Linked DNA regions of Homo sapiens: regions 1, 2 and 3 are each linked to region 4. The links are contacts of gene promoters, found by promoter capture Hi-C in blood cells and fetal thymus (Javierre and others, 2016). All regions are on one chromosome and are shown on one strand. The core of a region is centred on a gene start or on the middle of the fragment in contact, and the rest is flanking DNA. Distances in the headings are between cores, read along the strand shown. Region 1 overlaps MYO5A (myosin VA). Region 2 overlaps MYO5A (myosin VA). Region 3 overlaps MYO5A (myosin VA). Region 4 holds the start of ARPP19 (cAMP regulated phosphoprotein 19).

Region 1 (2,995 bases), core at 32-2,531, 240 kb after region 4:
GCATCTAATTCTTGCTTGGTTCAAACAGTGAAGATTCCCCATCACTGAGGATGTTCAAAAGAATCTATCATGATTAACTCCAAGTGTGGTTTTCATTCCTCCAACATGCCAGGTCTTGTCATAACTGCTCCTTCTGTTTGGTCATCCTGCTTCTCCTGGTTAAGTCCTGCTCAGCCTTTGAGACCAGAGTCATATGTCACATCCTCAAGAGTAGCCTTTCCTGATTACCCAGACAGACGTTATGGTTCTGCTCTCTGTGTACCACAATTTGGCCGACATCTTTTATGGTCTTCACTATGTCATATTTTTAGCAATTTTTCTGTTTGAATTACTGGCTTCCATAATAGACTCTGAGCTTCCTGAGCATAGAAAACATCTCTGTTTCCCTTTGCTTTCACAGCACCTAGCATAGTGTCTGACCTATCTCATAATCATTCCATAAATGTTTGTTGAGTGAATGAGTAAGTTTCAGAAATATTTATAACATGGCAACATGGACATTTACTTTGTAAAGGATATTACTCTGTTGGATGTACAAATACTGAAATATTTGTTTAGAAATCAGAAAGATTATTTTATAGTCACACTTTATATATAATCCTTTAGCATTACATGAGTCATATATTACATTAAAATTTGAGCCTCCACATCACACACTCACACACACATGAGCTATAATGTCTATTAGCAGAACTTAAAAATCTTTATTCAGAGAACTTTTTGCACTTTGCACCAATTATATCATGAGATGATAATCAGACAGCAGAGTATTTGTTTGAAAAAAACAGATTTTAAGTGTATTAACATGTGAGATTCTTTTTTTGTTCAACTCCTAATGATTCCTTTGCCATACTTTAGTAAATTTTGATAAACAGAAAAGCCATTCATTATTTTACATAATTTTTATTAGTTTTCTTTGATATGTATATTTTTTAGTTGAAGAGATGGGTTAGACTATTTTAAGATATTACTAATCTTAAGCCATTGTCAATCAGAAATCAACCTCATCATTTAAACTATCCAGACAGCTGTAAAGCCATAAGTAGCATTTGAGAATAGCAATTCATAGATCAAACAAAAAAGGCATTATAATAGTTCTTAAGAAGAGTTACATTTTGAGTTAAGTGATACATATCTAGAGGATGAAATGAAATAGATTTATGTGACTTGGGCACTTGCTGAGTGCAGTGTACCTGCTTCTACCCCAAATAAAGAGAATCAAGGTGACACTTTTCATCCTCGTATCTGCCTGTTACACAGAAAATACAGGCACCTTCTAATAACTAAACGTTGTCTTATACTTTTCTTTAAATGTATTGCAACACACTTAAATCCTTTTGGTTTAAAATAGCACAACTCTTGCCTCCTCCTACAAGCTACATTTAATTAAGGAGGCTTTTTAAAAAGCCAACAGACTTTTAAAAAAAATGCTAGCATATATAATTTTTGGCAGAAACTATATAGCTAAATGGAGAGTGTTTCAAAATTTGATCTGCTTTGTGCTATATTTTCACCCATCTTAATTTTCATGGAATCAAGAAATTAAGACCTGAAAGGATTCTAGAAATCAATTAGTTATTTCATAAGAGGAAAAAACTAAGGCCTGTAAGTGACCCATGGTTGCAGCAGGTGAGATGGCAGGACTAGAACACATACCTTCTAAGGGCCACTGATTTCTCTCCTTTGTGTCAAATTTTCCCACAGAAATCTTCTACTTATTAGGAATTCATCTGATTGTCTCAAACTTGAGATCAAGATCTTCCTGGTGCCAAAAGTAAATTTTTTTAAAACTTTCCAATTTTCTTTCCTTTTTGAAGACAGAAAGGTTCCCTCAAGTTTATAAAGAATCTAGAAAATGAAACTAGAGTCTTTTTTCAGGTCTTCCTAGAAGAATGGATCATTGGGCTCCTCAGTCCCTTTGTGCTGCTATAACAAAGTACTTGAGACTGGGTGATTTATAAAGAACAGAAATTTATTTCTCACAGTTCTGAAGGGTCAAGACACTGGCAAGTTCAGAGGGTCTGGTTTCTGCTTCCGAGATGGCAGGTGCCTTGTTGCTGGATCCTCTGAAGGGGACGAACTCTGTGTTCTTACATGGCAGAAGGTGGAAGGGCAAAAGGCTTAGCTAGTTGCCTCTTTATTTATTTATTTATTGAGATGGAGTTTGGCTTTCATCACTCAGGCTGCAGTGCAGTGGCGTGATCTCGGCTCACTGCAACCTCTGCCTCCCAGGTTCAAGCGATTCTCCTGCCTCAGCCTCCCAAGTAGCTGGGATTACAGGCATGTACCACCATGCCCGGCTAATTTTTTGTATTTTTAGTAGAGATGGGGTTTCTCCATGTTGGTCAGGGTGGTCTTGAACTCCTGAACTCAGGTGATCTGCCTGCCTTGGCCTCCCAAAGTGCTCTGATTATAGGTGTGAGTCACTGTGCCCGGCCAACATTTTATTTTAATTAGTAGATAATATTGCAAAATCAATCAAGGTTATGTTGAACTGACATCTAAATTTCATTTGTGAGCTTTGCAAAGACTTAAGTCCCTAGGGAGAATTCAGAGGCAGAGAGAAAGTTTTTAGTGAGAGTATGGCACATTCTATCTGACATTTTTATACAGTACCAAAAATATCCTGGTTAGAGATTTTGCAAAAGGAAGGTGAAGCTTCCTTTTAAAACATAAACTTTCTTAGTAAAAATATCCATTGTATTTCACAAATTCTGAGATGCAGTGTTTCCCATTTCAACATCTCTGAAATTGGGGTGTATCTTACAATTGTTGATGGGTTATAGTTTAGTTGGCAATTTTTTTAGTGTTACATAAAATACTGTATTTCATAACCGATAGCATCATAGATTTGATAAATCAGTGGGTTTAAAATATGCTCTTTGGGTTACATGGAGTCCAAATATGTGCATTTATTGATAAACCTAGTATGTTGAACTTGTTTTCTCCCAGTTTCCCCTTTTGGAATTGTACATGCGGCTTAAAAGTTACTAGT
Region 2 (3,141 bases), core at 153-2,652, 130 kb after region 4:
GGGCATGGTGGCTCATGCCTGTAATCCCAGCACCTTGAGAGGCCAAGGCGGGTGGATCATGAGGTCAGGAGATCGAGACCATCCTGGCTAACACGGTGAAACCCTGTCTCTACTAAAAATAGAAAAAAATTAGCTGGGTGTGGTGGCATGTGCCTATAGTCCCAGCTGCTCGGGAGGCCGAGGCAGGAGAATCACTTGAACCCAGGAGGCGGAGGTTGCAGTGAGCCGAGATCGTGCCACTGCACTCCAGCCTGGGTGACAGAGTGACAGAGTGAGACTCCGTCTCAAAAAAAAAAAAAAAAAAAAAGAGGTTAACGTAATATCCAGGACAGTGGCATGGCATGCTGAAATGTTTTTCTTAATTTAAATTATCTTGAATCTCAGATCTACCTGTACTTTCGTTCACCCACTTTCTTTTCGCTTTCTCCTATCTGTAAGTTCATCACTGGGTCATATAAATTTCTCTTGTACTTGGGAATGACCTTGTTACAAGCTTCCAGAACTTTGTGCCCAGTACTTAGAATAGTCATTACATTATCACAGTTCTTTGGGAAGTTGCCCCATATTTAACATACTCAAATCCAAATGCTCCTTCTCAAAGCTCCAAGTAAATTAGTACCCTGATTATTGTTAAAAATGAAATCTAGAGGTGAATTTACATGAAATGAGGATACAGATACAGGCCAGAGACCGGGTTCAGTCTGGCCCATGCCAGCCATGATTGATTGTGTCATGTCTTTCCCTTGCTGGCTGAATCTAGGATTCCTGTTTTCATATGTGATTTGTTCATGAAAATGGGCATTTAGGTTTAGTGTATGTGTGTTTTAAAGGGAAATTTCTTCCCAGAGAGTCCAAGCACATAAAAACACTTCTTCAATGTGGTATTCGAAAGATTTGTGCATGTTAGTATATTTTGTTCTTTTTCTTCAAAATTGACCACATAATCTTCTGGCTTATGTCCAGGGAGTATCTAGTTGAGGCAAAATATTTGCTGCTTTGGGAATCCCTGATGATTACCATGCCTTTTTCATGATGTTGAGGCTACAGGAGCTAAGCTTATTAGTGACTGGCTGTGCCATTTTTACCATTTCCCACTCATCTTTATAAAATAATGAAGGCAAAATGCTGAACAACCGTGTTTCTTCAGTTTTAAAAAATCTGTTATTTTTATTCTCCTCTTCTCCCTACTGTGATGGCTCCTGAAGGATGTCTGAGAAATCACTAAGGCTTTGCAGAGCACAGGATGCAAACCACCATAAAAAAATCCAAATTGTGGGCCGGGCACGGTGGCTCATGACTGTAATCCCAGCACTTTGGGAGGCTGAGGCAGGTGGGTCACGAGGTCAGGGGTTCGAGACCAGCCTGGCCAACATGGTGAAACCCCGTCTCTACTAAAAATACAAAAATTAGCTGGGCACAGTGGCACATGCCTGTAGTCCCAGCTACTCGTGAGGCTGAGGCAGGAGAATCACTTGAACCCGGGAGGCAGAGGTGGCAGTGAGCCGAAATCGTGCCACTGCACTCCAGCCTGGGCAACAGAGCGAGACTGTATCTCAAAAAAAAAAAAAAAAAAGAAAAAGAAAGAACAAAAAAATCCAAATTGTAAACCCAGCCATAAAAAGATGGCAGTGCTGTTGAAACTGGCAGAACCACAACACCATAGCTTCAAAAATAGATCTTATGTGTACATTTTAACCTAAAATTATACTTTCAGGTGGCATTTACTGTGTAAAGCAAAGTCAAGCTTTGATCATAACTGTTTTTTCAGAGCACACTTTTTATATAATTTGGGAATGGTGGTGCTATGAGAGCTAAAATATTTTTTGTTTACTAATTTAAAAAGTAAATTTCAGCTGGACGTGGTGGCTCACACCTGTAATCCCAGCACTTTGGGAGGCTGAGGCGGGTGGATCACCTGAGGTCAGGAGTTTGGAGACCAGCTTGGCCAATATGGCGAAACTCCATCTTTATTAAAAACAAAAAAATTAGCTGAGTGTGGTGGCAGGCGCCTGTAATTCCAGCTACTCAGGAGGCTGAGGCAGGAGAATTGCTTGAACCCAGGAGGCAGAGGTTGCTGTGAGCTGAGATCATGCCACTGTACTCCAGCCTGGGCAACAAGAGCTTAACTCTGTCTCAAAAAAAAAAAAAAAAAAAAAAAAGTGAATTTCATGTTGGCCAAGATTTCTTTTTTCATAAATTGTTTAATTATAAATAGTTATCATATGTTTATATATGATTGTAAAATAATTGATTTGCTAGTTTAAATTTTTTTCTTTTTGTCTTCTAGTTTGCCAGGGTTTGGATACCTGATCCAGAGGAAGTCTGGAAGTCAGCAGAGCTGCTCAAAGATTATAAGCCAGGAGATAAAGTCCTCCTGCTTCACCTCGAGGAAGGAAAGGTGAGATCTCACTTTCATTTGTTGTCATTGGCATAAAGTGAAGGGAGTTCAAAAGTGTAAATTTACTGTGAAGTAAACTCCCAATGGAAGTTAAATTTTGAACTTACCTAGAATTTTTACTTACTAAATTGGTAAAAATGGCAAACTCAGTTTTCTATCCTGATAGTGTTTTTAATGGCATAGATTAGTGAAAATAGCAGATACTTTAAAAAGCTTCTATTTTGGCCTGTGAATTTATTATGATTATCAGGTTTAGATTCACATCTAATCCTAAAACTCTTGCATTTAACTGGTGTGCTATGGGGAGTGCTTGTAGTGTTTTTAAAAAGAGGCATGGTGCCAGGTCTTAGAGGAGACTCATTGGTGGCAGCATGGAGAGCAAAACTGAGGGGAAGATACTAGTTGGGAGGAAGGCGGGGAAGAATTAGGCCAATTAGGAGGGCTTTTAATACCAAACTAGGGAATTAACTTATTTAACATTTATTGGTCATCTGCTTTGTTAGGCAAAATGTTCGGCACTTTGGAGTGAATTTTCTCACGTTAAATTTCACACCAACCCTATGGGTTGGCAGGTGATATAATCACTATTTTCCAAATAAGAAAGCCAAACTTCAAAGTCATTAAGTAGTTTTGCTCAAGGTCACACAGCCAGGAAGTGGCTTTTGGAATTTGAAGTGAGATTTGAACACAGATGACTCTAAGATGAGTGCTTATACTATTTGACTATATTGGATTTTTGCAGA
Region 3 (2,798 bases), core at 106-2,605, 210 kb after region 4:
CTCCTGCTTGGTGTGCACCTCTTCTAGGAGCCCTTGACTGATGATCCCTGTTCTGCTTCTGCTGTCAAGCTTTCTCACACCTTTCACCTCTGGGAAGGGTCACCAGAACTTTCTCAGCTATCATTAGGAGTTATTTCAGAATGACTGCCAGGCCTGTAGTGGTGGTAATTTTGTGAATAAATTCAGTTATTTTGATTTTCCTCAGATGAGAGACTAGTGTTATTTTTTAGGTCAGTTAAAAAGCTTCGCTGTCTTAGAAAAGCCCTGGGTGACAAAGTCCTTACTAAGGCAAAAAGCGAAACAAAACCTCAGAAACTTCTCTGTGACAGATGGCCCAATCTTCCTTCTTGCTCATGGGGTATAGTGAGGACAGCTCTTTAATTTGATAGCATCTCTTTAATTAGATGTGTCATCCGGGCTCAGAATGGGTACCATCGGGAGCACTCTTAAATAATTACCACTCTTTATGCCTCGAGTCATTTTGCATTTTTCAAATGTAATCTTTTGTGATCTTCCACCTTCTATTTTAATATTCTTATCCACAGAATTTTGCTCTTGTCCAGCAATCAACTAGTTGTTTATATAGTATTAGCCAATGTCTAAAGAGTTAACCCATCACATTTTTTCTTTTTTTTTTTTTTTTGCTAGTTCTAGTTATCAAAACACCATCCCATTTTAATAAGAGGATTCCTTTTAAACAAAAAGTGCCCATTCAAGGCTCAAAGGAATGATTTCCAAGTGATATTTTAGGTATAATGAATGAAGTATTATATTCATTTCTAGAATGAAAGGTTCTATGACAGTGTAAGAAAAGATTAAATAATTTAAAATTTCAGGGACATGTACATCATTCATAAATGAACAAACATTAAAATATATAATATGGAATGTTTACATTGTAAATAAGCTTCAATATAAGTATTTTACGCTTAATTTTTATGGGGGACGTATAGAGAAGAATTTTTATATGAATGAAATTCTGTGGTGATTTCGTGTTGAGGCAAGATGTTATATCTGTTCTGCTAAGTCAGGACAGACTTTATTATAAAGATTATATACCTAAAACTTTTTCTAATTGTTAAGTATTACAAAGTAGGCAGAAAGAAAAAGTTCAGGTGTAATTAATTTGTGGACAAATGACTTTGACAGCCTATAAATGCCTACTTTTTTGTTCAGTTGATTCTTCTCAGGTTGTTTTTGAATTGGAATAACACTTAACACTACTCTGAATTCATGAAAGACCAAAGGTAGCTAATTAATATACAATTCCTGAAAATAAAAAAAAAAAAAAAAAAGTCAAAGAAATGCAAATTAAATCAACAGCGAAGTGCCACTTTTGGTCTATTAACTGAGCTAATTTTTTTTTTTTTTTAATTATAACGGTTACTACTGTTGAAGGCAAGGTGATGGTTGCTGATAGAAGTTTAAATTGGCCCAATTTAATGGACTTTTAAGAAGTTAATGTTTAGATATTTATATACTGGGGTGTTTATTTTAGTAATATTCCAATAGCAAAAAATTAGAAACAACTTCAACACCCATCAGTAAAATAATAGCTAAGCAAATGGTGACACACCTGTCTATATATTGAAATATCATATTATAAATTTGGGAAACAATGCAATGCCAAGTTTAAAAGACCATATAAAATTATAATGACATTATTATTCTAATTCTTTAAATCTATAGATGCATAGAGAAAAAGACTAAGAAAAAATTGTAGTTTTTCTGTGGCGATAGGATTATGGCTGTGTTTTTCTTCTTTGAACTTTTCTTATTTCCTAAATTTTCTGTAAAAGCTTATTCTGTTCTCATATCAGAAAAGCAAAAGTAAACATTCTCTTTTTAAACAATTGGGTAGATTTACCAATCATTTAAGAATTATACTTTGACCATTTAGTTAAATAAATGATTGTTGCCATTCTCTTGCTCCTCCAGCCCCACTTGTCTCTCTCTAACAAAGGGACTCTTTATCTTCCACATTAATTCTAATAGTACAATTATTTCTCTTCTTACCTCATTAAAAATTAAAACCTTAGGTAAACATGTTAAAACAATTATGGCATCCACAACTTCCATTATGATGGTTAGTTGTTTCCATTCTTTTTAGCTTTAATTAGTGTACCTTTATTTATCCTAGTAGGTCTCATTGTGATTCTGTTTTGGAACCAGTTGACACATTTTTAAAATGTTATTAGGTTATCCTTCAGTTTATTAAGAACTATACAGTCGTCCCTCGGTTTCCACAGGGGATTGGTTCCAGGACTTTCATGAATACCAAAATCTAAGGATGCTCAAGTCTCTTATATAAAATGCAGTAGTATTTACATATAACCTATGCACATCCTTCCATATTCTTTAAATCATCTCTACATTACTTATAATACCTAAGACAAGCTATGTAAATATAGCATTATTTAATACCTAAGACAATATATAATTAAATAAAACATTATTTAGTACCTAAGACAAATATAGAATATTGTAATACCCAAGACAATATAAATGCTATGTAAACAATACAGTATAATAACTATTTATTTGTAATAAAAAGCCAAGTTGCGCAGCACAGGTCTATCTGCAGAGCCAAGGCTGGGCTTTATGTCTATTTCAGCAGTCTCTTCTTAGTGGGGACACAGCCAAGCCTAACCAAGCAGCGTTTTGTTAAAGTAGTGAGGGCTAAACTCTCTTCACTGTTTTCTGAAGAGGCAGTAAATATTCTAACAGTAAAAATGTGATAATCATTTTCATTTTTATTGTTTGGGAGTTTTTTTGGGGGGGAATATTTTTGATCCACA
Region 4 (3,143 bases), core at 77-2,576:
TCAGTCAATTTATTAATAAAAATACAACTGTTAAATGCTTCAGTGGCCTAACTACTGCACTCTTCTTTCTCTCTGCAGTTCTGCTTAAGGGAAAGGCAAATTTTCAGTATGTTACTTTGTGAGTATAGAAGGAGAACAAATATGTCGTGGATCTTACAGTTTCTCAGCTAGCCCAGCGTGAGACATTCTTAAGGGATATCTTTGTCAAACAGTTGGCCTGTTGAACCCTTTTATTTTCAATACTTCCTTGGCTGACAAATGCCTTCCTTCGTTTCTCCAAAAGGAGTGCAATATTAACTCTTTTTGTTTTTCTAGTTGCAATTCCAGTGCAATTCTTCCTGTCTGAGATTCTACATCCTGGTTGAGTTTCGATGGTTTCCAAATTCCTTATCCAGGCATTTAGGGTCTTTCAATTGTTCCCCTGCCCCCAGAAATGCATTCATTTTCTGTGGCTTTTTACTAGTTTAACTTTTAGAGGGCAATCTTATTTCCAAGTTTCTGAGGGACACTTTGTTGGAACCAACAAACATTGCGAGTAACTATTCAGATATCAAGTAGAATGAGGATTCAGTAAGAAGCCGCAGGACTTGGCAAATAAAAAGGTCATTGGGGGAGCTCAATGCTAGCAGTTTCGGTAAGCTTGTGGGAGTGGACCCCCTGGGAGTGGACAAATGAATCTGAATTCCTTCGTTAGATATCTAGGAAGTGCTGGACCCTCAGAGTAAAATATAAGTAATTACAGACGAGATCCCTGCCCTGGTGCGGCTTATCTGAGAAGGAAAGGTGACCTAAAGTCACGACAATTGTGTAATGATACAGTTCATGTTGTTGAGGAACTGTACAGGGCTGTGACAGCCTTTAAGAGGTGGCTCTGGCCTAGTGTAGAGGTTTAGGAAGGAAAGGTTCTGAGGCAGAGACGTAGGACTGGAGATGTGAAGGCGTGGCAGAGTGGAGCAAGACTTTTGGCGTGCCCAAAAGACAGCCTGTGTGGCTACAGAGCGGAGAGCGAGGAGAACAGAACTAGGCGAGGATGGGTAAGTGGAAAGAGTAAAATAAAGCTCCTAGAACGAGGGGACCAGAGTGGACAGGAAAGGGCGGGGAGGGGCGGTTCCACTTAGAAACTACAATTCCCAGGAAGCACTCGGCAGCCACAAACGGATGTGAGGTGAGGCAGGAGCGGCGACCTTTGAAGGAAAAAAGGAAGTGTTTGGACGACAGCGAGCGGGAGAAGCGGGGTCAAGTAGGTAGGGGTGCGGTGCGGGAGGGGCAGGCGGGCTCCGGCGTGCGAGGGCCTTGGCCAGCGGAGCGTTTCGCGGCTCCGTGTCGTCATAAGGCGGCGGCCATTTTCGCGGGCGGAGGCGGCCCGGCGGGCCCTGGGAGAGCTGGGACGGGCGGCGGCCGGGTGGCCTCGGCCACCCGCTAATTGCATCTTTTCCCGGCGTCTCGTCTGCAGAGGGAGCACTATGTCTGCGGAAGTCCCCGAGGCAGCCTCCGCGGAGGAGCAGAAGGTGAGCGCGCGGGGCGTGAGCCCTGGGCCCTGCCCAAGGCCGGGTCTGGCGGGCGGCCTGCTCCCGCCAGGCGGAGGGCCGCGCCCGAGATGCGGGGCCGAGGCGCATGAGGCCGAGGCTCCTGCGCCCCACCTTTGGCTTCCCGCCGTCGCTGGCTGGTGCGCCGACGAATTGGGAGTTCCAACGTGCCCCGCGTTTACTCCGAATCGTGCCTTTTGTAACACCTCCGTGGGTCGCGGTGTTCCTCAGTCACTTATATTTACGCGAGAGCCCAGGACGCAGGCTTTGGGCGTAGAGCCTAAGTTTTTCTGTAAGCCTCAATTTGGTTAGGAAGTTTTATTTTTTCCTTTGAAGAACTCTCCAACTACTTGTATTGTGAGCGTGCGGTTCACTCCAAAAGCAGTGCCTCGTGTGCGGGCCGCGATGTGGGCCAGGATTGGCATTTCAGGGCCAACCCTTGTAACCATGGTCAGTGAGTAAAGTCCGGCCTTCAGTGTCTTCACCTGTAAAGGCCGAATACTGGTGCTTGCCTCCCACGGCGGGGTGAGGCCTAGAGGAGGTGAGTCAGGTGTAGTGTGCAGCGCAGTCTGTGCTCAAAAAGGTTTCAGTCGATGGGACTCAAATATGGTACTTGACTAAAAATCGAAAGGGTGGAATTTTAAAATTTTACTCACGAAATTAATCAGGGTTTTATTGGAAACAGGAATATTTTGTAAACGCCCTTGTGTCTTCCTGATGTAGGGGAATAGGCCGGGAGTGTCACTGTGGTTCAAATTATGAATATCAAGCCTTTGTATTTATCTAGGCTGGTGTTTGTCTCTCCCACTGTAATTATTTCCACCGCCCTGCCCTCCTAGGCAGGTGTGACTGGCCGAGAAGTGAGAAAGGGCCGAGGTATCTTGTCTCCTAAATTGTTTATCAACAATTTTTCTTACAAATCAGGTTGTGTTGCCGTTAAATACGATTTTGGTCTACTGCTTGACCTTCGTGCGGGTTTCTGCTTAATGTTGCACTTATGTCCTAATTAAGTTGGGAATTGGATTAGTGTTCTAAGCCCATTCCATATGTTCTTAAAACCGTGTTAACTTTTCTTAAGTTGGGTGCTTCTGTTAGGATGTTAAAGTAATTGAAAAACAAGAAAACATATAGCATAGGTAAAAGTCCAAGTTACCACATTATTTGAGAATATCCCGTGAAAATAGATATATTTACGCATTACCAAAAAAATGGATTTTGGGGGCAAAAATACAAATATTAAAGTTTGCAATCTTAACAGTATTATTAAGTATCACCTGCTTATTGTAAAATGCGTATTGTGTTCATTATTGCTTGAAATTTAGGAGCCCCCAAAAATAACAAGTCCCTGTCTGTGGTGGTTTGCCTTAAACACTTACATCAAACTTAGCATTAACTTCTGGTGCACAGTAGTGTGCTATGTAATTTTCTTTGATAAGTTCTGTTAGTATGTTGCCAAAGTATGCAGTATTGACTTCTAGAGTGTAAATACTTTTACTTGGAAAAGCCTAATGTATCTTTTAACAATATTAAGGATAGCTTGAACGTTTTCTCTTATTGATTGTCTACATTAAACATTTAAGGTGCTTTGGTTTTAGCTGCTGTCATTAAAATCAACCA

The links. The method cuts DNA at HindIII sites, captures the fragments that hold promoters and counts their contacts. A CHiCAGO score of 5 or more calls a contact.
Region 1: a contact is called between a fragment that was not itself captured here and the fragment with the promoter of ARPP19 in region 4, in 10 of 17 cell types (non-activated CD4 T cells, M1 macrophages, M0 macrophages and 7 more). The highest score is 10.7, in non-activated CD4 T cells.
Region 2: a fragment that was not itself captured here is called in contact with the fragment with the promoter of ARPP19 in region 4 in 1 of 17 cell types (M1 macrophages); the score reaches 6.4 in M1 macrophages.
Region 3: a fragment that was not itself captured here is called in contact with the fragment with the promoter of ARPP19 in region 4 in 1 of 17 cell types (M1 macrophages); the score reaches 6.6 in M1 macrophages.

The regions. Positions count from the first base shown.
Region 1 is chr15:52,332,125-52,335,119 of GRCh38, reverse strand. All of the region lies in intron 34 of MYO5A (myosin VA), which reads left to right. Among named protein-coding and RNA genes, the nearest start is that of MYO5C, 38 kb to the right of the region's middle. The HindIII fragment of the contact is 2,759 bases long and covers 1-2,660 here.
Region 2 is chr15:52,432,432-52,435,572 of GRCh38, reverse strand. MYO5A (myosin VA) reads left to right here. Exons shown (of 42, transcript NM_001382347.1): 2 at 2,288-2,398. Among named protein-coding and RNA genes, the nearest start is that of MYO5A, 95 kb to the left of the region's middle. The HindIII fragment of the contact is 689 bases long and covers 1,058-1,746 here.
Region 3 is chr15:52,355,298-52,358,095 of GRCh38, reverse strand. All of the region lies in intron 25 of MYO5A (myosin VA), which reads left to right. Among named protein-coding and RNA genes, the nearest start is that of MYO5C, 61 kb to the right of the region's middle. The HindIII fragment of the contact is 892 bases long and covers 910-1,801 here.
Region 4 is chr15:52,567,213-52,570,355 of GRCh38, reverse strand. ARPP19 (cAMP regulated phosphoprotein 19) reads left to right here and starts at 1,326. Exons shown (of 3, transcript NM_006628.6): 1 at 1,326-1,508. The coding sequence starts at 1,464. RefSeq lists enhancers at 797-926, 980-1,726, 1,727-2,475 and silencers at 1,397-1,456, 1,527-1,626. The HindIII fragment of the contact is 6,860 bases long and covers 642-3,143 here.